7 separate regions of the Homo sapiens genome follow, and regions 1, 2, 3, 5, 6 and 7 are each linked to region 4. Evidence: promoter capture Hi-C in 16 types of primary human blood cells and fetal thymus (Javierre and others, 2016). All regions are on one chromosome and are shown on one strand. Each heading gives the region's core, a stretch centred on a gene start or on the middle of the fragment in contact. The rest is flanking DNA. Distances are from core to core; before and after follow the strand shown.

What was found. Contacts are between HindIII fragments. The CHiCAGO score rates a contact against its expected background, and 5 or more counts as called.
Region 1: a fragment that was not itself captured here is called in contact with the fragment with the promoter of SLC35D4 in region 4 in 5 of 17 cell types (naive CD4 T cells, endothelial precursors, naive CD8 T cells and 2 more); the score reaches 8.7 in naive CD4 T cells.
Region 2: a fragment that was not itself captured here is called in contact with the fragment with the promoter of SLC35D4 in region 4 in 1 of 17 cell types (activated CD4 T cells); the score reaches 5.3 in activated CD4 T cells.
Region 3: a fragment that was not itself captured here is called in contact with the fragment with the promoter of SLC35D4 in region 4 in 3 of 17 cell types (total CD4 T cells, fetal thymus and activated CD4 T cells); the score reaches 6.5 in total CD4 T cells.
Region 5: a fragment that was not itself captured here is called in contact with the fragment with the promoter of SLC35D4 in region 4 in 4 of 17 cell types (non-activated CD4 T cells, endothelial precursors, total CD4 T cells and 1 more); the score reaches 6.4 in non-activated CD4 T cells.
Region 6: a contact is called between a fragment that was not itself captured here and the fragment with the promoter of SLC35D4 in region 4, in 2 of 17 cell types (total CD4 T cells and total CD8 T cells). The highest score is 5.7, in total CD4 T cells.
Region 7: a contact is called between a fragment that was not itself captured here and the fragment with the promoter of SLC35D4 in region 4, in 5 of 17 cell types (naive CD4 T cells, endothelial precursors, non-activated CD4 T cells and 2 more). The highest score is 7.8, in naive CD4 T cells.

Annotation. Positions count from the first base shown.
Region 1 is chr18:23,028,795-23,031,982 of GRCh38, reverse strand. No RefSeq gene overlaps it. Among named protein-coding and RNA genes, the nearest start is that of RBBP8-AS1, 97 kb to the right of the region's middle. The HindIII fragment of the contact is 1,236 bases long and covers 1,225-2,460 here.
Region 2 is chr18:22,990,792-22,993,788 of GRCh38, reverse strand. It overlaps RBBP8 (RB binding protein 8, endonuclease), which reads right to left. Exons shown (of 19, transcript NM_002894.3): 10 at 2,740-2,852; 11 at 150-1,041; 12 at 1-68. Among named protein-coding and RNA genes, the nearest start is that of RBBP8-AS1, 59 kb to the right of the region's middle. The HindIII fragment of the contact is 1,830 bases long and covers 577-2,406 here.
Region 3 is chr18:22,950,538-22,953,280 of GRCh38, reverse strand. All of the region lies in intron 4 of RBBP8 (RB binding protein 8, endonuclease), which reads right to left. Among named protein-coding and RNA genes, the nearest start is that of RBBP8-AS1, 18 kb to the right of the region's middle. RefSeq lists an enhancer at 732-1,420. The HindIII fragment of the contact is 7,109 bases long and covers 1-2,743 here.
Region 4 is chr18:23,436,648-23,439,594 of GRCh38, reverse strand. It overlaps SLC35D4 (solute carrier family 35 member D4), which reads left to right and starts at 1,634. Exons shown (of 15, transcript NM_032933.6): 1 at 1,634-1,814. The coding sequence starts at 1,743. RefSeq lists a silencer at 1,506-1,605. The HindIII fragment of the contact is 5,255 bases long and covers 204-2,947 here.
Region 5 is chr18:23,007,920-23,011,006 of GRCh38, reverse strand. The region is part of intron 16 of RBBP8 (RB binding protein 8, endonuclease); the gene reads right to left. Among named protein-coding and RNA genes, the nearest start is that of RBBP8-AS1, 76 kb to the right of the region's middle. The HindIII fragment of the contact is 1,911 bases long and covers 511-2,421 here.
Region 6 is chr18:22,969,429-22,972,255 of GRCh38, reverse strand. The region is part of intron 5 of RBBP8 (RB binding protein 8, endonuclease); the gene reads right to left. Among named protein-coding and RNA genes, the nearest start is that of RBBP8-AS1, 37 kb to the right of the region's middle. The HindIII fragment of the contact is 634 bases long and covers 1,226-1,859 here.
Region 7 is chr18:23,063,395-23,066,322 of GRCh38, reverse strand. No RefSeq gene overlaps it. Among named protein-coding and RNA genes, the nearest start is that of CABLES1, 71 kb to the left of the region's middle. The HindIII fragment of the contact is 2,957 bases long and covers 1-2,814 here.

The sequences.
Region 1 (3,188 bases), core at 593-3,092, 410 kb after region 4:
GGACAGGAGTTGAAGACCAGCCTCGCCAACATGGTGAAACCCCGTCTCTACTAAAAATACAAAAAAAATTAGCCAGGCATGTTGGCGTATGCCTGTAATCCCAGCTACTCAGGAGGCTGAGGCAGGAGAATCGCTTGAACCTGGGAGGAGGAGGTTGCAGTGAGCCAAGATCGCGCCAGTGCATTCCAGCCTGGGCGATAAAAGTGAGACTCTGTCTCAAAAAAAAAGTAAATAAATAAAATAAAATAAAATAAAATAAAATAAAATAAAATAAAAATAGCTCTCTTCTGGCCTCTGCTGGTGTGATAGCAGAAAACTGTTTCATTCTTTGCTTAAGTGCATGCCAAAGAATTCAAGTGTAAGGACACTTAAGTTTTCTTTTGTCTCTCTTCTCTTTTCTTTTCCTCTTCTGTGAGACAGGATCTTGCTCTGTCACCCAGACTGGAGTGCAGTGACACAACCTCGGCTCACTGCAGCCTCGACTTCCCAGGCTCAAGTGATCCTCCCGCCTTAGCTTCCTGAGTAGCTGGGACTACAGGCACACACCACCACACCTAGTTATTATTATTACTATTTTGAGATGGAGTTTTGCTCTTGTTGCCCACCCAGGCTGGAGTGCAATGGCATGATCTCAGCTCACTGCAACCTCCGCCTCCCAGATTCAAGTGATTCTCCTGCCTCAGCCTCCCGAGTAGCTGGGATGACAGGCATGTGCCACCACACCTGGCTAATTTTGTATTTTTAGTAGAGATGAGGTTTCTCCATGTTGGTCTGGCTGGTCTCGAACTCCCGACCTCAGGTGATTCGCCCGCCTTGGCCTCCCAAAGTGCTGGGATCATAGGTGTGAGCCACTGCGCCCGGCCTATTATTATTTTTTTATGAGACGAGGTCTTGCCATGTTGCCCAGGCTAGTCTTGAACTCCTGGGCTCAAGTGAACCTCCAGCCTCAGCTTCCCAAAGTGCTGGGATTACAGCCGTAAGCCACTGTGTCCAGTCAACACTTCGGCTTTCTAAGGACTATTCTAACAGTTCAACTCGGCAAAGAGAAAGACTGAGGTGTCACTTAAACTGCTAGATATGCTGAAAATACACAGTTGGATAGTAAAATTTGAGATACAGTTCAAATGCTTATTTCTGCAGTGGCATTTTTCAAAATTAAACTCATGGATGTTATGAGATGACAAAGATGACAAAGTAAGATTCTTAGGTGTTTCTTTAAAAGCTTGCTCTTTTAGAGAATATTTGTCAAATTTTGTCTAATTCTGACACTGTACTTAGTATCATGCCTGGTAAAGTGCTGAATAAATGTTTGTTAAATAAATGAACTAGTGTTATTTGGTTTATGTAACATTAGTCTTTTTATGTAACTGAATTACAAATGAAAGACCATCTTGGAGCTAGGCTCAGTGGCTCATATCTGTAATCGTAGCACTTTGGGAGGCCGGGGCAGGAGAATCACTTGAGCTCAGGAGTTCAAGACCAGCCTGGGCAACATAGTGAAAACTCATCTCTATAAAAAAAAAAAAACACAAAAAATTTAAAGAAAGACAATCTTGGGAGAAATCTTTGCCCTCTTTCAAAGTTATTTCTTTCAGAGCGTCTAATGCCCTACATACATTTAAAAATACATGCTAGTTGCAGTTTATTATTATTATTATATTATTATTTTTTTGAGATGGAGTCTCGCTCTGTCGCCCAGGCTGGACTGCAGTGGCGCTATCTCAGCTCACTGCAAGCTCCGCCTCCTGGGTTCACGCCATTCTCCTGTCTCAGCCTCCCGAGTCTCTGGGATTACAGGCGCCCGCTACCGCGCCCGGCCAATTTTTTGCACATTTAGTAGAGACGGGGTTTCACCGTCTCTCCTAAATCGAGCCAGGATGGTCTCGATTTCCTGACCTCGTGATCCGCCCGCCTTGGCCTCCCAAAGTGCTGGGATTACAGGCGTGAGCCACCGCGCCCGGCCTATTTTGTTATTTATTGAGACAGGGTCTCACTCTGTCATCCAGCCTGGAGTGCACTGGCGCGATCTTGGCTCACTGCTGCCTCAACCTCCCGGGACTCAAGGGATCCTCCCACCTCAGTCTCCCAAGTAGCTCCTGTGCCACCATGCCCGGCCTAGATGCAGTTTAAACTGAGTTACTAATATATTGAGCCTATTGGCAGCAGCCTTGCCAGTTGGACTTTGAGAAAACTTTTCACCGCATGAAATGTTTTAGGGAATATTCTTCTGTTTCATCTGGCTTTTCTCTCAAGGTAACATTATCATGTCTTCTACACATATTTGGGTATCCATGATTAACTCATTCAGACTGTCCCATTTGACAACCTTAGGTTTCAAACGGCTTAATCAGAATATCTCTTTACTAAAGGTAGGCAAGCTGTCAGTCAAATGTTAAGTGCGACATATAGGTTCTACATGTTTCCTAAGTTTAAATCAATAGTCTCTAACTTTAAAAAGCTTGCTAGTGGCCAAGTGTGGTGTCTCCTGCCTGGAATCTTACTACTTTGGGAGGCTGAGATAGGCAGATCACCTGAGGTCAAGAGTTTGAGACCAGCCTGGCCAACATGGTGAAACCCCATCTCTACTAAAAATACAAAAATTAGCCGGGCGTGGTGGCGCACGCCTGTAATCCCAGCTACTCAGGAGGCTGAAGCAGGAGAACTGCTTGAACCCAGGAGGTGGAGGTTGTATTGAGCTGAGACTGTCACTGTCACTCCAGCCTGGGTGACAGAGTGAGAGACTCCATCTCAAAAAAAAAAAAAAAAAAAAAAAAAAAAAAGCTTGCTGGCAACCTGAAATTCTATGTAACTATGTAACCAGTGAATGACATACATTCTTATGAAAATATTATCTAACGTGTATTATACAAATGCTTTACAAATGTATAAAGCCCTTTAATATACATTATCTTTTTAAAGAAAAGCTTGAGTGCAGTGTCATAAACAGCCATTTTGCATTTAAATGTTATCTAACCCAAATGTTTTTTAGTTTTGAGAGAGTTTCACTGTGTTGCCCAGGCTGGAGTGCAGTGACGTGATCTTGGCTCACTGCAGCCTCCACCTCCCAGATTCAAGCTATTCTCCTGCCTCAGCCTCCTGAGTAGCTGGGATTACAGGCATGCACCACTACGCCTGACTAATTTTTGCATTTTTAGTAGAGACGGGGTTTTGTCATGTTGGCCAGGCTG
Region 2 (2,997 bases), core at 242-2,741, 450 kb after region 4:
GATGCAAGTTCACATCCTCCATGGTCTGACCTGGTTTGTATTTTTATTGGCTCATGAGAACCAGCACTCTAAAACAGAAATAATTGTTAGCTCTAAATGAAATCACAAGCAATCATTTTAATCAAAATCCTTGAACATTTAACACAAACCTTTATGTCATCTAAAACATTCTCAGTCTCCAAACTTTCACGTGGACGTAGAGGAATTTTAAAGACAGCATTTTCTTCTTTTATTTGTAATGATGGTTTATTGTCTGGAGAGCATTTATTCAAGGGCTGAAGGATGATGCATTCCTGTGAACAGGGCTCCCCTGGGGAATCTTTGGGCAACGTGCAGTTGCCATCTGAGGCCTTACGGCTTGAGGAAAAGCCCTTTGGAATGGTCTTCAAAGCCTCATAAAGAGTCACTTGCCTAAATTTGTTTTTAGAAGTCTCACTTCCTTGGCTTTTCTCTTGACGCTGAATAGCTGAAAATCGATCAGACAGATCCAGAGGTTTATCCATCACACAGTCTCCATTCATGGAAAACTGATTATCCATTGGAAAAGGGAAAGCATTTTCTTTATCAAAAGAAGCTTGGGGGCAGCTTACTTCATGTTCACTTTCTTCCTCAGTTTTCTTCCTTTTGGATGTTCGGCCTCCCAATGATTTCAGGGGCTCCAAATGTTTATCAGTGTTAGAATCTTTACCGTACTCAGTCCTATTCTGTTCACCTAGGGATTCACTTATATTTTTATTTATAAGTATCTGTTTATTAGATGACTGGATAATGATCTTGTTCACTTCAGACCCAAGACTGTGATGTGTGAAAAGGGCACTATCTTCAGATTTTGATCTAGTTTTTTCTAATCTAGATATACAAGTGTTGCTAAAAGGGAGTGTTTTCAGATGTTTTTTTTTCCCAGGCTGTAAAAGAGAAGGGGACAAACTTGTATTCAAATCTAAACCACTTTTGATACTAGAGGTAGCTCCAAATACAGGAGATGACACTCGAGTAGGTAATTCTTCTTGAGGAGGAGTCTTTGAAGTAGAATCTGAAAATCTAAATAAAGAGTGATAACAATTCTTTAATACAGAATTAATAGTAAGGTCTTATCTACCTCTTAGAAGCAAATGATTAACCAAAATTTAAGACAAGGTACAGCTTTTGGCTTCTCTTCATTTAGATGACAAAAGAGAAGGGGAAAAGCAGAGGAAAATGACATAGGAAGTATTTCTCAACACCATAATATTCATATTTTAAAAATTTTTCCTAAGTACTTTAAATAACTTTATTATACAAAAAATCATCTTTTGCCAGGCGCAGTGGCTCATGCCTGTAATCCCAGCACTTTGGGAGGCCAAGGTGGGCAGATCACTTGAGGCCAGAAGTTCGAGGCCAGCCTGGCTAACATGGTGAAACCCCATCTCTACTAAAAATACAAAAATTAGCCGGGTGTGGTGGCACACGCCAGTAATCCCAGCTACTCTGGTGGCTAAGGCACGAGAATCACTTGAACCTGGGAGGTGGAGGTTGCAGTGAGCTAAGCCTGGGTGACAGAGTGAGACTCTGTCTCAAGAAACAAACAAACAAAAATCATATTTTAATAAATTCCACTGAGAACCTAAGTTCTTTTGTTACGACATTTGATCATGAGTAACTCCAAGAAACAAAATTCTTACACTACAGAATTGAACATAAATTAAGATTCAGCCTGTCTCTAGCAGAGGAAATATGCGTAGAAAGAGCAGTAAGTTTGAAGATGTGGGCTGGGTAAGATCTCTGGCTCTACCACTTAATAGCTATGTGGCCTGAAACAAGACATTTAACCTTTCTGGAGCTGTATTTTTGTAATCTGTAAAATAAACCCAAAAATTAGGGTAACAAAATCTACTTTAATCAGTTACTAAGATGACAGACTGTGATATACATATATAGATAGATAGATATCTATATATCTAAAAACTGAAAGCTCTTTTAAAAAGCAAAATGCTATATAAATACAGGTACAGTGGCCCTCCTTATCTGTGGGTTCTGCATCTGTAGATTCAGCCATGTGGCTAGAAAATAATTTGGGTAAAAAATCCAAATTTCACAACATTCCAAAAGGCAAAACTTGAATTTTCCATGTGCCAAGTACTATGTTGAATCTTTGCAAATGGATTGATATGTAGGCATTGTATTAGGTATTATAAATAATCTGGAAATTACATAAAATATACAGGAGGATATGCACAGGTTATATGCAATAATGATGGCCATTTTATGTAACGGACTTGAGCATCTTTGGATTTTGGTACCCATGGGGGAGGGGGTCCTATAACTAATCCCCCACTGATATCACGGAATGGCTGTATTATTAGTTAATAGGTATTCTGAAATTAGTAAAAATGAGATGCAACACAATCTTGGAAGCTCATCCAAGCTTCTAGATGCATTTTGTAGAACATCCAGTTTTGGGAAATATAAACCCCGAAGGGATGACTGGCTCTTTAAAGGAGCAGAGTGACAAGTACTGGGAACAAGTACTGCTTGACAGAAACACAGAAAGTAGCTAAAAATGATATCCACCTTTCTACTGTAATGCAAAAAAGCTCTCAATTGGTCAGAAACTAGGGAGACAATTTTTAAAGTAAACATTTATATAACCACAATAACAAACTATATGTTGAAGGAGAGAAATGGCTTAATTATATGAAATTCATTGTAATGGGATCTCACCAATAGCTTATCAGTTTTCACCAACGTGCCCTTAATTACCTTAAACTATCTTCAGTATTTCTTGTAGATTCCTCAAAAGGCTGTTTCTTGTGATTTCCTTCCAGACAGTGGTAGAGCTCATCACCAAGGGGGCTCATGGGACCTTGAGTTTCCTTCAAGAGTAAAATATGAAGCACATCCATGTAATGGGATTTGTTCATTCTTAAAAAGGGATGAAGTACTGATATATGTTATGATGTAGATGAACCTCAAAAATATACTAAGAAGCCAGACAAAGGCCACATAATGTATGATTCC
Region 3 (2,743 bases), core at 52-2,551, 490 kb after region 4:
CCTTCACCTGTTTCCACATAGGTGAATACACCAGGCATCCCATAGTCAGATCCTGCTATAAATGAGGAAAGCAGGGCAACTATGGCTCCAGGACTCCCTGTTAGCTTTGTCAAAGCTCTCTTACAAGTACAGTATCCTCTTCCCTCTCTTCTTCACAGAGTTAGAGGCATGAGGGTCTGACAGCTCTCCCAGACGCCTCATTTCTTACAGGTATTTTTCCCAATAAATCTCTTCAGTGTCCAAAGTCTTATTGATGTTTGCTTCTCAGAGAACTCAGGCTAACATATTTCGTTATTAATACCAATCTTGAAATTTTCTTTACATAGGAATGATGGAACAAAAAGCATTCCTAATCTCTTGGCGTTAATGCCATTACTCACTCCAACCTCACTGCTTGTAGAAAGTGGTGTAATGGTAGAAATGAGAGAAAAAACGTGGTGAAATAAGAGAAGGAAGCTCTTCAATGGCTGGAGTTAAAGGCTGAGAGAGATATGTTCCCTGAAATCCTCTACTACATATCCAGAGAAAACAGAAGGAAGCGCCTCACCACACTACAGATGAGTAACTAATGATTTCCTTTCCATTGCTGACCTGGGAAAGGGTGAGTGGGAGAGATGGCTTTCTAGTTTCCTGGCTTCTCAGCTAGACAGCCTAGACATGGCTGTGTTATATAACACAGATTAGAGTGCTAAAAGTTGGAATCATCTTCCAATTAGGAGATAGTATATGTCTTATTAAATATCTGTTATGTACTGCTGCTTCCATTATCTCATTTAAACTTCAAAATAGCCCTGCAAAGAAGGTATTGTTAGTGGTCAAGACCTATGTTCCTGGCTTTTCTTCTATTTTAATAGTTTCTCTTTCTCAATCTTTTGCTGGCTGGGTCCTTATTCTTCATGAAACCTTAATCAGGAATGCCAAAGGATTCAGCCCTAAGACCTCTTCTTTCTTCCTATACTATTCAAAGATGTCCTTAAGAGATCCACTGAATCCTAGATTCACATATACATCTATCTACTTGACATTTCCATTTGGATAGACAGGCTGTTGCTACCTACTTATATCCCTTTGTTATTCTCCTGCTTAAGTGGTTTCCATCACAATTAAAATCCAAACTTTTTGCCTATGTCCCTACGAAATCTAGTTGTTGCCCCACTAGATTTCCAATCTCACTCCTATCACTCATCCCCTTTACTCATTAAACTAGAACCACAGTAGACTTTCTGTTCCTCAAATATTTCAAACTTATTTCTACCCTAGACTTTCACATTTGTCTGTTCTATTTCCTTTTGTCTCTAGTTCTTCAAGTGGATGGTTCCTTTCTGTCAATCAAGTCTCAGTTAAGACAGCACCCCAACTCCATGGTGACAGAAGCTCCTGTGTTTAGGATCCTTCTAGACCTCACCCCATGTATCTCTTCATTTGGCTGTTGACTTGTAACCTTTAACAAATTTTTTGTAATAAACTGATAAATATAAATGTTTTCCTGAGTTTCGTGAGTCACTCTAGTAAATATAACCCGAGGAGGGGGTTGTGGGAACCCCAATTTAGAGTCTGTCCAAAGCATGGGTAAACAACCTGGGGCTTGAAATTGGCATCAGAATTGAGGGAAGGACACAGTCATGGGGACAAAGCCCTCAACCTGTGGGACCTGATGCCATATCCAGTGTAGGAATTGAATTAAGAGGATACCCAGCTAGTGTCTGCTGTAGAATTAATTGTTTGCTTGTTGGTAGGGGAAACTCCTCCTCACATCTGGTGTCTGAAGCATGTTGTACGAGTACAGTGGGAAAAGCTGCGTTTGGTTTTTTTTTCTACACAGATCCTGTGGTTACTCAATTACATAATTCGATTTTATTTTCTTCATAGCATTTATAATCTGAAATTGTCTCATTTGTTTGTCGTATGGCTCACTCCCAACCTTTGAAAATTAAATATATGCACAGACAGGAGTGCTAAATTATATTCACCAACTAAGATATGTAAGTCTTATTCAACTTCTGTTATGTATTGTTACTTGCACTGTCTCATTTAATCCATGACATACTAGGAAAAGTATCATCCCTAGCCCCCTAGAGCAACACCTAAGACAGCAAGGACTCAAATATTTGTTGTGGAATCTGAATTAAGAACACAGGGTGAAGCTGGAATTCAAAAACATATGTGATTCTAAAGCGCACAGGTCTTTATTCCACAATACACTGCCTATTCCAACAAATGTGCATCCATTGAGTTGGTAGTTGTAGAAAGTACTCAATTTCAGTTTGCACATATGAAGAATATTAAATTATTTCACCACTAAAAGGATAGAGACAAACTCAAATCACCCAGCCCTTCCGTAACATATACAAAAATATCAAGAAAAAAATTTTTTTAAGAGACAGGGTCTTGTTCTGTTACACAGGCTGGAGTGCAATGGCACAATCATAGCTTGCTCAAACTCCTGGACTCAAGCAATCCTCCCGTCTCAGTGTCCTGAGTAGCTAGGACTCCAGTCACATGCCTGGCTAATTTTTAATTTTTTGTAGAGATGAGTTCTTGCTATACTGCGACGCTGGTTTTGAACTACTGGACTCAAGCAATCATCTTCTTGCCTTGGCTTCCCAAAGAACTGAGGTTACAGGCATGAGCCACTATGCCTACCCTGGAAAAATAAAAACTATAAAGAAAGTATGGGATATCGTGGGTTTGTATTTTTTTTTTTTTTTTGGAGACACGGTCTTGCTCTGTCACCCAGGCTGGA
Region 4 (2,947 bases), core at 385-2,884:
AGGCATGAGCCACCGCGCCTGGCCACAATGATCTTTTTAAATTGTCGTTAAAGATTGGTGTTTTGGAGAGGGAGACACAAACTCTGGGGCAAGAGTGATAGGTGAGAAGCGAGTGTAGGCTTGTGAAGGGGCCTCCTTGTGAAGTGTTAACTTCTTACATGATTTTATTTCTATGGAGAGGAAAATTTAGTGCATTTGAAGCTTCATCTCCTCTCTTCCTGTTCTGTATTTTTGCTTTTTAATAACCCAGTGTACTAGTCTGTTTTCACGCTGCTGATAAAGACTTACCCGAGACTTGGTAATTTATAAAGAAAAAGAGGTTTAATGGACTCACAGTTCCACGGGGCTGGGGAGGCTTCATAATCATGGTGGAAGGCAAAAGGCACGTCTTACATGGTGGCAGGCAAGAGAGAAAAAATGAGAGCCAAGCGAAAGGGGTTTCCCCTTATAAGACCATCAGCTCTGGGGAGACTTATTCACTACCACGAGACGAATATGGGGGAAACTGCCCCCATGATTCAATTATCTGCCACCAGGTCCTTCCCATAACATGTGGGAATTATGAAAGCTACCATTCAAGATGAGATTTGGGGACACAGCCAAACCATATCATCCAGTCTTGGTAGAGAAAGCTATACCCATCTGTACAAGTGGTTTGAAGGAGACTGTGGGAGAAAAGGGAGGGAAGGGGTGACCAGCCTACCTCCATCTCTATGTTGGTCCCCTCTGCAGACCAACCAGCAGGCCCAGGAAGAGACCTGTGGAAAAGTGAGCAGAGGCAAAGGACTGCGATGAGACAGTGGTGGCTGGGGAGTGGCTTCAAGGGGACAAGCCGAGGTCAGCCCTCCCTCAATGCTGGAGGGAGCAGAGAGAAACAAGGCATGCTTCTGAAAAACAGAAAAATTACATAAGGGTTGGTGTGTCGTTTTCCATCCACTGCTCCAGCACCGAGAGCCAGGAGGACTTTTGCTGTGGCTTAAGAGTGATGGTTTCCCCGTGTGTGGGTGTTTCTGAAAATCTGTGTGTTTCTACAGGCAGAGAACACTGGCACTTTTTGCTATTGTCCAAGTCCATCAATAGGTTTTCTTGCATGTTTACTAACATTTGCCGGAAGCCTCATGAGTCCAGTTTTCCACCCTATAGACTAGGAATAGGAATAGGAATAGGGGCTGTGCTTGGGAAAGGGTTCTTATTTTATAGAAATGTCAAGAGAATGGAATGACTTTAAATACAAACAAAACTCAAAAAACCTATACTCAATTCCAGTTCCTTCTTCCTTCACCTTCCCTCTTTTAAGTGAACATTTGTTGCTGTTACCTTTTTTGTGTCATTTGCCAAAGCGCTACAGACTCAGTGGAGAAAATTGGGAAAATTCAGTGAAGCACGGGTAATATTTTGGTCTCATAGTTTAGAGATAGCGATGAACATTTTTCTTTAAACACTGATGGGGTATTGTGAACTGCGGTATGCTTTTTTCCTCTTCTGCCACTTTCTACTCTTTAAAAGAAGATAAAAAAATAAAAAATAAAAAATAAAAGAAGAATGACCGTCCTTCGAGGGCGCGGCCCCTTTAAGAAGGCAGACGCCGGGGGCGGTCCCCGCGCTGATTGGCGGAGCTCGGAGCCACGTGGCCGTCTCTGGGCGGCTGCTGCCGCTGCCGCTGCTGCTGCTGCGGGGGTCGGGCGGCGGCCAGGGGATTTGGGCAGGCACCGTGGATCCCCGAGAAGGGGACGAGTTGACAGATGTGCGTGAGGAGGTCTCTGGTCGGCCTCACCTTTTGTACCTGCTACCTGGCTTCTTACCTCACGAACAAGGTGAGGGGGCGGGCGCGGGAGGCAGCGATTGCACGTGGGAGGTTTGAGTCGGAGAATCTTCCCGTGACAAACGGAGCCTCCTCCTGCTTTTTACCTCATTCTTCCTGGTGGCGATGGAGATGGAGAGCGAACCTCCTCCGTGTGTGGGATGCTCTTTCAGAAATAGGATTTGCCAGCCTGTACTGTCCCCGTTTCCTGCACTGTAAAGCACGGTACATCTCCAGGGAAACAGGATTTTTGGGCTGGCCATTTCCCGGGAACTTGGTTTGGGGCTGTGTGGACTAGTTTTAAGAGAAAGCAAGCAATTGGCTCCTGCTCCCCCGGGGAGGAAGAGTCAGAAGAAATCTGACACATCCTGCCTTTTTTCTAAACACGCCCCTGTCCCAGAGCCCCCGTGAAGTTCCAGAAGCCTTTAAATAGAAGAGATTAAGCCGTCTCCCCCTCACACTGCTGATTCCCGAATCAATTTTTTTGTACGTCTCCATTGTAAGCACTTCAGGAGTTTTTCATGGAATTATTATTTTTTAAAATAAAACATACATTTAGTTTTAGGTTTAAACTAATGTCATGACATCATGAAAACCTTTTGGTGAGGAGGCAGAGAAGCAGTGGTGCCAGCTTTGGGGTTTTGTTTTGCAAGGAGAGGGAAGCTGGCTTTAGGTTTGGTACCACGCAGGGAAAGGTTGGATCCAATAGGACCGAGTGGGCATGGCTGGGGCATTACCTGCTGGCCTGGACTCTGGGCTGGCCCCAGCCAAAGTGGGAATACAGGGTGCAAGACCACCTGGCCCCACTGTGGGGTCTTACTGCGGGCTCCCCACCTGCTCCCCGCTCTTCCTTTCTCCTCTCTTCCTCTCTGGAAAAGAACCATCGACAAACAGCATTTCCTTCTACCTCCTCTCCTACAATGAATGGCTGCCTTTATATATTCAGAGGATGCTCCCCAACCCCCTTTCCTTCTCCAGTTGATTTTTATTTTTATTTTTTTGAGATAGAGTCTCGCTCTGTCACCCAGGCTGGAGTGCAGTGACGTGATCTCGGCTCACTGCAACCTCTGCCTCCTGGGTTCAAGCGATTCTCCTGCCTCAGCCTCGTGAGTAGCTGGGGCTACAGGTGTGCGCCACCACGCTGGG
Region 5 (3,087 bases), core at 217-2,716, 430 kb after region 4:
CAAAGAGTTTATGGACTCCTAAGATTATGCAGATCACATTTTGGCCATATCCTTTCTTCTGAATATTAACTACTCCACTTCTATAGTGTCTTATCGTGACGTAGGGAATCTCCTAGCAGAACAGCATCTGTAGTAGACCTCAAAGCATCACTTAAACAAGCTTCTTGTCCCTGATACTACACAATCCATCTTCCCAGGTTTGCAGTCTTAGTATTCTCAGTGGAAAAAGCAACAATGTAACTCTGAGAATTCTAGCATCTCCATGCCTCCATCCCCACACTTCCATTCACCTCTTGTTCTCCAGCTATCTAATTGCTTCAGAATAAATAAAACTACTCATACATATTTTCTAAAAAACTAGTGAACCTTTAACATGAAACATTTAAAATGACAGTTCTTTTTTTTTTTGGAGACAGGGTCTCACTCTGTTGGCCCAGGCTGGAGTGCAGTGGTGTGATCATAGCTTACTGCAGCCTTGACTTCCTGGGCTCAAGCGATCTTCTCAAAGCTTCCTGAGTAGTTGGGACTATAGGCACACACCATCACACCTAGCTAATTTTTAATTTTTGTAGAGACGAGGTCTCACTGTGTTGCCCAGGCTGGTCTCAAACTCCTGGGCTCAAGCGATTCTTCCGCCAAAGCCTCTTGAAGTGCTGGGATTACAGGCATGAGCCACCTGGAAAATGACAGTTGTTACTCTGCAGTCCTACTTCTAGGAATCTATCTCAATGATCTACAGGCAAAAATATGAAAAGAGAATGTGCAAGGTTATTCACTGCAGCACTGTGTGCACTAGGCATAACTGTCAACAACCCAAGTGTCCACTGCTAGGGTATAAACTACAGTAGGGTCACATAATGAAGTACTATGGAGCTAAAAAGAAATGAGGAATATCGCTATATACAACTTGAGTGATTTCCAGGATCTATAGTTAAATAAAAAAAGCAGGCCAGGTGCAGTGGCTCATGCCTGTAATCCCAGCACTTTGGGAGGCCAAGGCAGGCAGATCACAAGGTCAAGAGATCGAGACCATCCTGGCCAACATGGTGAAACCCCATCTCCACTAAAAATACAAAAATTAGCTGCGCGTGGTGGCGCATGCCTGTAGTCCTAGCTACTCGGGAGGCTGAGGCAGGAGAATCGCTTGAACCCAGGAGGTGGAGGTTGCAGTGAGCTGAGATGGCGCCCCTGCACCCTAGCCTGGTGACAGAGCAAGACTCCGTCTAAAAAAGCAAAGTAGAGCAAAGTATATATAATATTCTATATGAGTCATGGATAGCATGACTATATACATGTATTTGCTTCTATTTTTTAGGATAGAAGAAAAATCATAAATTTTAAACAAATGATTACCTATAGGGATAGGGAGCTATAAGATATAGAGGCCAAGAATAGACGTGAGATTTATCTGAATATACTTGTAGTCTGGTACAATGTACATACTTTGTGTCCATTATATACATTTTATATATATATATATAAAATACATTATACTTTATGTACTTTTAAAAGAATTAAATATGAAAAGAAAAAAACCCAATTCCTAAAAAATCAAAAGCAAAATAAGGTACTGAGTTGGTGGCATAACTGCAAAAAATAATTATCCCAAATGACTTTAAAAAAAAAACGCAGTGATTTTACTGTACATTTCTAATAGAATATATTTTAAGGACAAAAGAGCATACAAAAAGTTTTCAAACAATTTTCATTAATTATATTATTGGTGGTATTATTCTGAAACTGCTTTATGTGTATTGTGGAATAAAATAAATTAAGGAATTATGTTGGTGGCACTGAGAAGTGGGATTTTCAGTAGGTGGGAAAGTAAATAAAGATGTAAGATAGAGGAGTTTACATAAATATCCTGTGGTCCTGAATTTGAGTTAGAGCGATCAGTATGAAGTATAGTTTACCTTAAAAAATCAAAGTGATATGGCCGGGTGAGGTGGCTCACGCCTGTAATCCCAGCACTTTGGGAGGCCGAAGCGGGTGGATCACGAGGTCAGGAGATCGAGACCATCCTGGCTAACACGGTGAAACCCTGTCTCTACTAAAAATACAAAAAATTAGCCAGGTGTGGTGGTGGGCGCCTGTAGTCCCAGCTACTCAGGAGGCTGAGGCAGGAGAATGGCGTGAACCCAGGAGGCAGAGCTTGCAGTGAGCCGAGATTGTGCCACTGCACTCCAGCCTGGGTGACAGAGTGAGACTCTGTCTCAAAAAAAAAAAAAAAAAAAAAATCAAAGTCATACAAAAAATCTTTTTCCTAACTCTGTCCACCTAAAAGGCTGAGAAACAATGACTAAAGTGCAACCCTAGCAGCCAGACTGTGGCCTAAACACCATTTCTCACTAAAAGGAACTAGGGCTCCAAGAAAAATGGCAGATTCCAGATAACAGAAGCAAGAAACCTATGAAAGAAGCTTCCTTTTCCTTTAGGCAAAGATGGGACAATCTGGGTATCTCTAAGGATAATGACTGCAATGGATTACAACACATCAAATATACTTAAATTGATGAGTATATAATGACACCTAAACAAAAAACAACCTAGTCACATTTGGAATGCTAGAGTACCATTTGTTTGGAAAACTGGTAACTAAAAAAGAAGAATTAAGCATTAAACAAAATGACAGCTCTTTAAGAGTTTCAGAGGAATAAAAAAAATCTTGGCCTGTTAGATTTCTAAAATTCTCAACAGAAATAAAAATAAAAGGAGTAACTTTACTGAGTAACTCAATTTACCAACATCTTAAAGAAAAAAATAACAATTTTTTTTGAATGAATTACTATGTCTTCAATTTGCTTTAAGAACAAATAGTAGGTGACTATAAGTAACAGAATTTGCAGTCCTTGTGAAAGGCAGAAGGTCGCATTATGGTTAAATCAAGATGCTTAGCGCCAGGCGTGGTGGTTCACGCCTGTAATCCCAGCACTTTGGGAGGCCGAGGCGGGTGGATCACGAGGTCAGGAGATCGAGACCATATTGGCTAACATGGTGAAACCCTGTCTCTACTAAAAATACAAAAAATTAGCCAGGTGTTGTGGTGGGCACCTGTAATCCCAGCTACTCGCGAGGCTGATGAAGGAG
Region 6 (2,827 bases), core at 293-2,792, 470 kb after region 4:
CCTTCCGAGTAGCTGGGATTACAGATGCCTGCCACCATGCCCGGCTAATTTTTGTATTTTTTTTAGTAGAGACGGGTTTTCACCATCTTGGCCAGGCTGGTCTTGAACTCCTGACCTTGTGATCCACCCACCTCAGCTTCCCAAAGTGCTGGGATTACAGGCGTGAGCCAACGCGCCTGCCCTAATTCTTTGGATCGTAACAGAACCTTGCTGGCAGAAAAACTGAATGAACAAAATGATGATTTAAATGTATGTTCCCCAATTAAAACATTAACATATCAAGCCTGTCTGTTTTAGAAATTAAACACTGGGGCCAGGCACGGTGGCTCACAACGGTAATCCCAGCACTTTGGGAGGCCGAGGTGAGCGGATCACGAGGTCAGGAGTTCAAGACCAGCCTGGCCAACATAGTGAAACCGCTTCTCTACTAAAAATACAAAAAATTAGCTGGGCGTGGTGGTGGGCGCCTGTAATCCCAGCTACTTGGGAGGTTGAGGCAGGAGAACTGCTTGAACCTGGAAGGCAGAGGTTGCAGTGAGCAGAGATGACGCCACTGCACTCCATCCTAGGTGAAAGTGTGAGACTCCGTCTCAAAAAAAAAAAAAAAAAAAAAAGAAATTAAACATTGGTTCACCCTAGAAAAGCTATCAGTAAAACTTACTACATGAACAGATGCTAAGAGTTTTATAAATTCACAATTAAGCAAAACTTGGCAAAAGAGGTACAGAAAGAAATATCCATAACTTAATTTCACGTATCTACTAGAAGGCCACAGCACACTTAAATGTAATATAGTCTAGTCTTCCCTTATGTATCAACTGCTATTCTGGGCAGTATTCTAAAGCCCCTTAGGCCAATAAAGTATGTAAAGAAAAACAATCACCAAAAGAAACTGTAAAAATAATTGAAAGAAAAGACGAAATTGTCACTATTTGCAAATATTTTTACCTAGACAATCTACAGCAAAATAAAGCTAATGAAAGACCTCAGAAATCCTTAGTCATCTTCCAATGATGGAGTGAGTGGGAGGGTCGGGGTGGTTCCTGGCTAGTGAGACTGAAGCAAAAGTTATTGGGTGGGTGTTCAAAGAAGCTTTTTTTTTTTTTTAAAGACTCTCCTGGCATGCTCATTTCAGCCTTTTGCTGCTGCTTCTTCCTTCTTGTATGAATGCAGTTACGAGGCCTGAAAAAGTACCTGCCATCTTTTGACTGTGAGACAGTAAGCTTGAGGATGAATGCCTGCAAATTCTAAAGATGGTAAATTTCTACTTCACATTCCATGTTAAAAATTCCAGATGGATTAAATATGCAAATTTACGTGTGTGTATTTTTATATTCTTGGGGATAGAGAAAGCCTTCCTAAACAAGGTAAGAAAATATACAAAACTTCCACTTGTCAAGTAGTTATAAAATGAAGTCAACAGGTAATGGCAAAGTAGAAAATATATGCACAGCATATCTACCAAAGTGTAATAATCCTTCCATAATATATAAATAACTCTTAGTTATTCACTAAATTAAAAGATACAAACAGCAAATAGGGCAATTTAAGACTGGGCAAAGAATAAATAAGCCATTCACCCAAGAAGACGATCATATAAAATAATACTTGACTGGAACAGTAACAGGGAATGCCAATTTTAAAAAGGTATCATTCTTCACCCACCAGATTGAATATTATTAATACATTTTTGCCCAAATCTGAAGAGGATGTAAGAAAATAAAAATTCTCAAACATTCAAACAAAAAGTTGAGCAGTCCATTAAAGTGACAATAGCTAAAAAATTGACACCTATACTATGGCATACAATGCAGCCATTTAAAAAAACGTTGTCTTATACTTTAACACCTAGATAAGCTTTTTTGCTTGCTTGGAGTTTTTGGCTCTATTTTAGATAAAGTTGCTGGAAATCTATTAGATATGTAGACATTATTGGAGATTATTTCCAGTAGTACTAACAATAATATTACTGTGGATCTCAACTACAGTTGGCCTTCTATATCTGTGAGTTCTAAATCTGTGGATGGGAAACATTTGGGAAAAAAAAATTCTACAAAGTTCCAAAAAGCAAAACTTGAATTTGCCAGACACCGAATACTACATTTAATTCACACAAATGAAGTGATGCGTAGAGACTGCATTTGGTATTATAAGGAATCTAGAGATGATTTAAAGTATGCAAGAGAATGTGGGTAGGTTATATGCGAATACTATGTGACTTTATATAAGGTACTTGAGCATCCAAGGATTTTGGTATGCGTCAGGGTCCTGGAACCAATACCCTACAGATGACAAGGAACAACTACATATTTATTGAGATGTAACAATTTTCTACTCATTGATAATATTCTTACATTCCTAAATAAATGTATGCACACGTTCACCCATATACACCACAGAATCTATAGACATATTAACATGTAAAGACTTCCAAGACATAGTCTAAAGTGAAGTAACACATTAGAACACAAAGTATGGTATGATAACATTAAAATTCAAAAGAGAAGGGAGGGAAGCGGGGTCTAACAAGGCACAGAGACAGAAAAACCTGGACCTGGACAGATATGTATCAGACTATTAACAGTAGTTACCTCTGGGAGCAGAATAAAGCTATATTCTTTCTTACCTCTTTTAAAAACAATGAGCATATATTCAATATTCTTGCTTGAATAACCACAGGGTAGCAATATAATTAACAGAAAAAAATAAAAGACAGAATTAGTTTGGAAAAGAAGATAATTAATTAGATTTTGAATATATTGATTGTGAGTTGCTTATGGGAAATCCAGGTAATGGTCACCAAAAGAAATAAATAGTTATAAGAGAA
Region 7 (2,928 bases), core at 87-2,586, 370 kb after region 4:
CTGTTTAAGAAATCATCAATGACGCCATTCGGCTTTAACAGGATTCCTTTTTCCTCTCTACAAGAGCCAGGAATTTCCACTTGATAGTTTGTTCATACCTTCTTAGGAAAATCCCACTAAATCACTGCAGCTCAGTACAGAGAAAGAACAACACGAGCTAGGAATGGGCTACCGTTCCCTGATTATATGATGAATAAATCAAAAAGAGTTGTGAAAGAAACCATTAATTTAAGCCAGAAGAAAGCTGGGCAAGTTATAGACTGCATAAAAAAGTATAAACTGCAAAATACTCATTTTTGGAAATACCATTGTAGACTATTACAGCCAGAAGAAGGCCGGGCATGGTGGCTCATACCTGTAATCCCAGCGCTTTGAGAGGCTGAGGTGGGCAGATCATCTGAGGTCAGAAGTTTGAGACCAGCCTGGCTAACATGGCAAAACCCTGTCTCTACTAAACATACAAAAATTAGCTGGGCGTGGTGGCATGCTCCTGTAATCCCAGCTACTTGGGAGGCTGAGGCAGGACAATCACTTGAACCTGGGAGGCAGAGGTTGCAGTGAGCCAAGATCACACCACTGTACTCTAGCCCGAGCAAGAGTGAGACTCCGTCTCAAACAAACAAACAAACAAAAAAACAAAACCAAAAAAACAGCCAAAAGACAACTTGAAAATCAATGACCCTATCTTTTTTATAGATAAGGAAATTTAAGACTAAAAATAAGCTGACTCACCCTAGTTTGCAGCAATATTATTTGGTCTTATGTTGGGGAGCTGTGACATAAAATGACAAATTAAAAAGAAAAGCAAATTTAAAACAGAAGTCAGCAAACTTTGTCTTAAAAGGCTAGATGGTAAATATTTTTGGCTTAAGGGCAATACCCTCTTGGCCATTGTAGCAAAAGCAGCCATAGACATGCAAACAAATCAGCATGGCTATGTTCCAATAAAACTTCATAAAAATAGGCAATGACACTAGGATGGCTACAACAATTTTTTTGTTTGTTTTTTGAGATGGAGTCTCACTCTGTTGCCCAAGCTGAAGTGCAGTGTCACGATCTCAGCTTACTGCAACCTCCACCTCCCGGGTTCAAGCGATTCTCTTACCTCAGCCTCTTAAGTAGCTGGGATTACAGGTGCACGCCACCATGACAGGCTAATTTATATATATATATTTTTAGTAGAGATGGGGTTTCACCATGTTGGTCAGGCTGGTATCGAACTCTTGACCTCGTGATCCACCCGCCTCAGCCTCCCAAAGTGCTGGGATTACAGGCATGAGCCACCGCGCCTGGCCTTTTTTTTTTTTTTTTTTTTTTTTTTTTGAGATGGAGTCTCACTCTGTCACCCAGGCTGGAGTGCAGTGGCTGAATCTCGGCTTACTGCAAGCTCCGCCTCCCGGGTTCACGCTATTCTCCCGCCTCAGCCTGCCGAGTAGCTGGGACTACAGGCACCCGCCACCATGTCCGGCTAATTTTTTGTATTTTTAGTAGAGACGGGGTTTCACCATATTAGCCAGGATGGTCTCCATCTCCTGACCTCGTGATCCGCCCGCCTCAGCTGGATTCCAAAGTGCTGGGATTACAGGCATGAGCCACTGCGCCCAGCCCAACAATTTTTTTAAAAACAGGAAAATAGGTGTTGGCAAGCATGTGGAGAAATTGGAACCCTCATTATGTTGCTGGAGGGGATATAAAATGGTGCAACCTCTGTAGAAAACAGTTCGGCATGTCCTCAAAATTTAAACATAGAATTACCAAATTGTAAACGAAATGCTAGTTAGTGGCTCTCTGAATGTGCAGTCTCGTTAACACGAGTGAGATCTGACACAAAAAAAGTGAATTTATTCCGAAGCTAGCTTGGAGAAGGGGCACAGAGTGTCCTGCCGTTAAATGTGCCACTTTGCTTTTAGAGCAGAAAGCAGGTATTTTTGATAAGGCAAGGGAAGACACGAGCAAGGGCAGGGGTTCCCCTAACTTGGCATCTTATTTATGGGGGCAGTTGAGCTGGTGCCTTCCTGGGTAGAAGTAAGTTGTGAAAGTGGCCAAGTGGGCATGCTTTCCATATGCCCTCTTGGTGGATTAAAGTTCCAAGGCAACCCCCTGACAGTGAAAGTTTCATGGCAGGTATGCTTTTGTTTTCTTTCTTTCTGAGACAAAGTCTCACTCTGTTGCCCAGGCTGGAGTACAGTGGCACAATCTCAGCTCACTGCAACCTCTACCTCCCAAGTTCAAGTGATTCTCCTGTCTCGGCCTCCTGAGTAGCTGGAATTACAGGTGTCCACCACCACACCCGGCTAATTTTTATATTTTTAGTAGAGACAGGGTTTCACCATATTGGCCAGGATGGTCTCCAACTCATGACCTCGTGATCTGCCTGCCTTGGCCTCCCAAAGTACTGGGATTACAGACATAAGCCACCGCACCTAGCCATGGTATACTTTTGTTTCCAAAACACCAACGATTTGGTCTCGGTCCTGCTGGCCTCCTACACGGGAAGCCAATGACTGAGACAACAAGTATTGCTAAGAGAGAAGGCTTTAATCGGGTGCTGTGGCCGATGGTAGCTCAGTCTCAAATCCATCTCCCTGACCCACTAAAATTAGGGGTTTATACAGCAGGGAAGAAATGTAACAATGTGCGAGAAAACAGGAATTCTGGAGGGGTAAGGAAGCAATTATGATTAATGAGGGGACTGGAGCCCCATTGTCTAGATAAGATGATCTGGTGAGTTTCAGCTCTTTGATACATTTTGAGAGTTCTGCCAGTCCTTTTCTGAGGAAGGAACTCAGATAAAACAAACCTAAGTTTCAAGCTTTAAGACCAGAAGGGTCAATTTCTATGTTTATCCAAAAAAACTGTTTATGGGACTATTGGGTCAGTTTCACTTTGGTCTGAAAGTCGACTGTCAGCTCTGGAGGGGAGATCTGT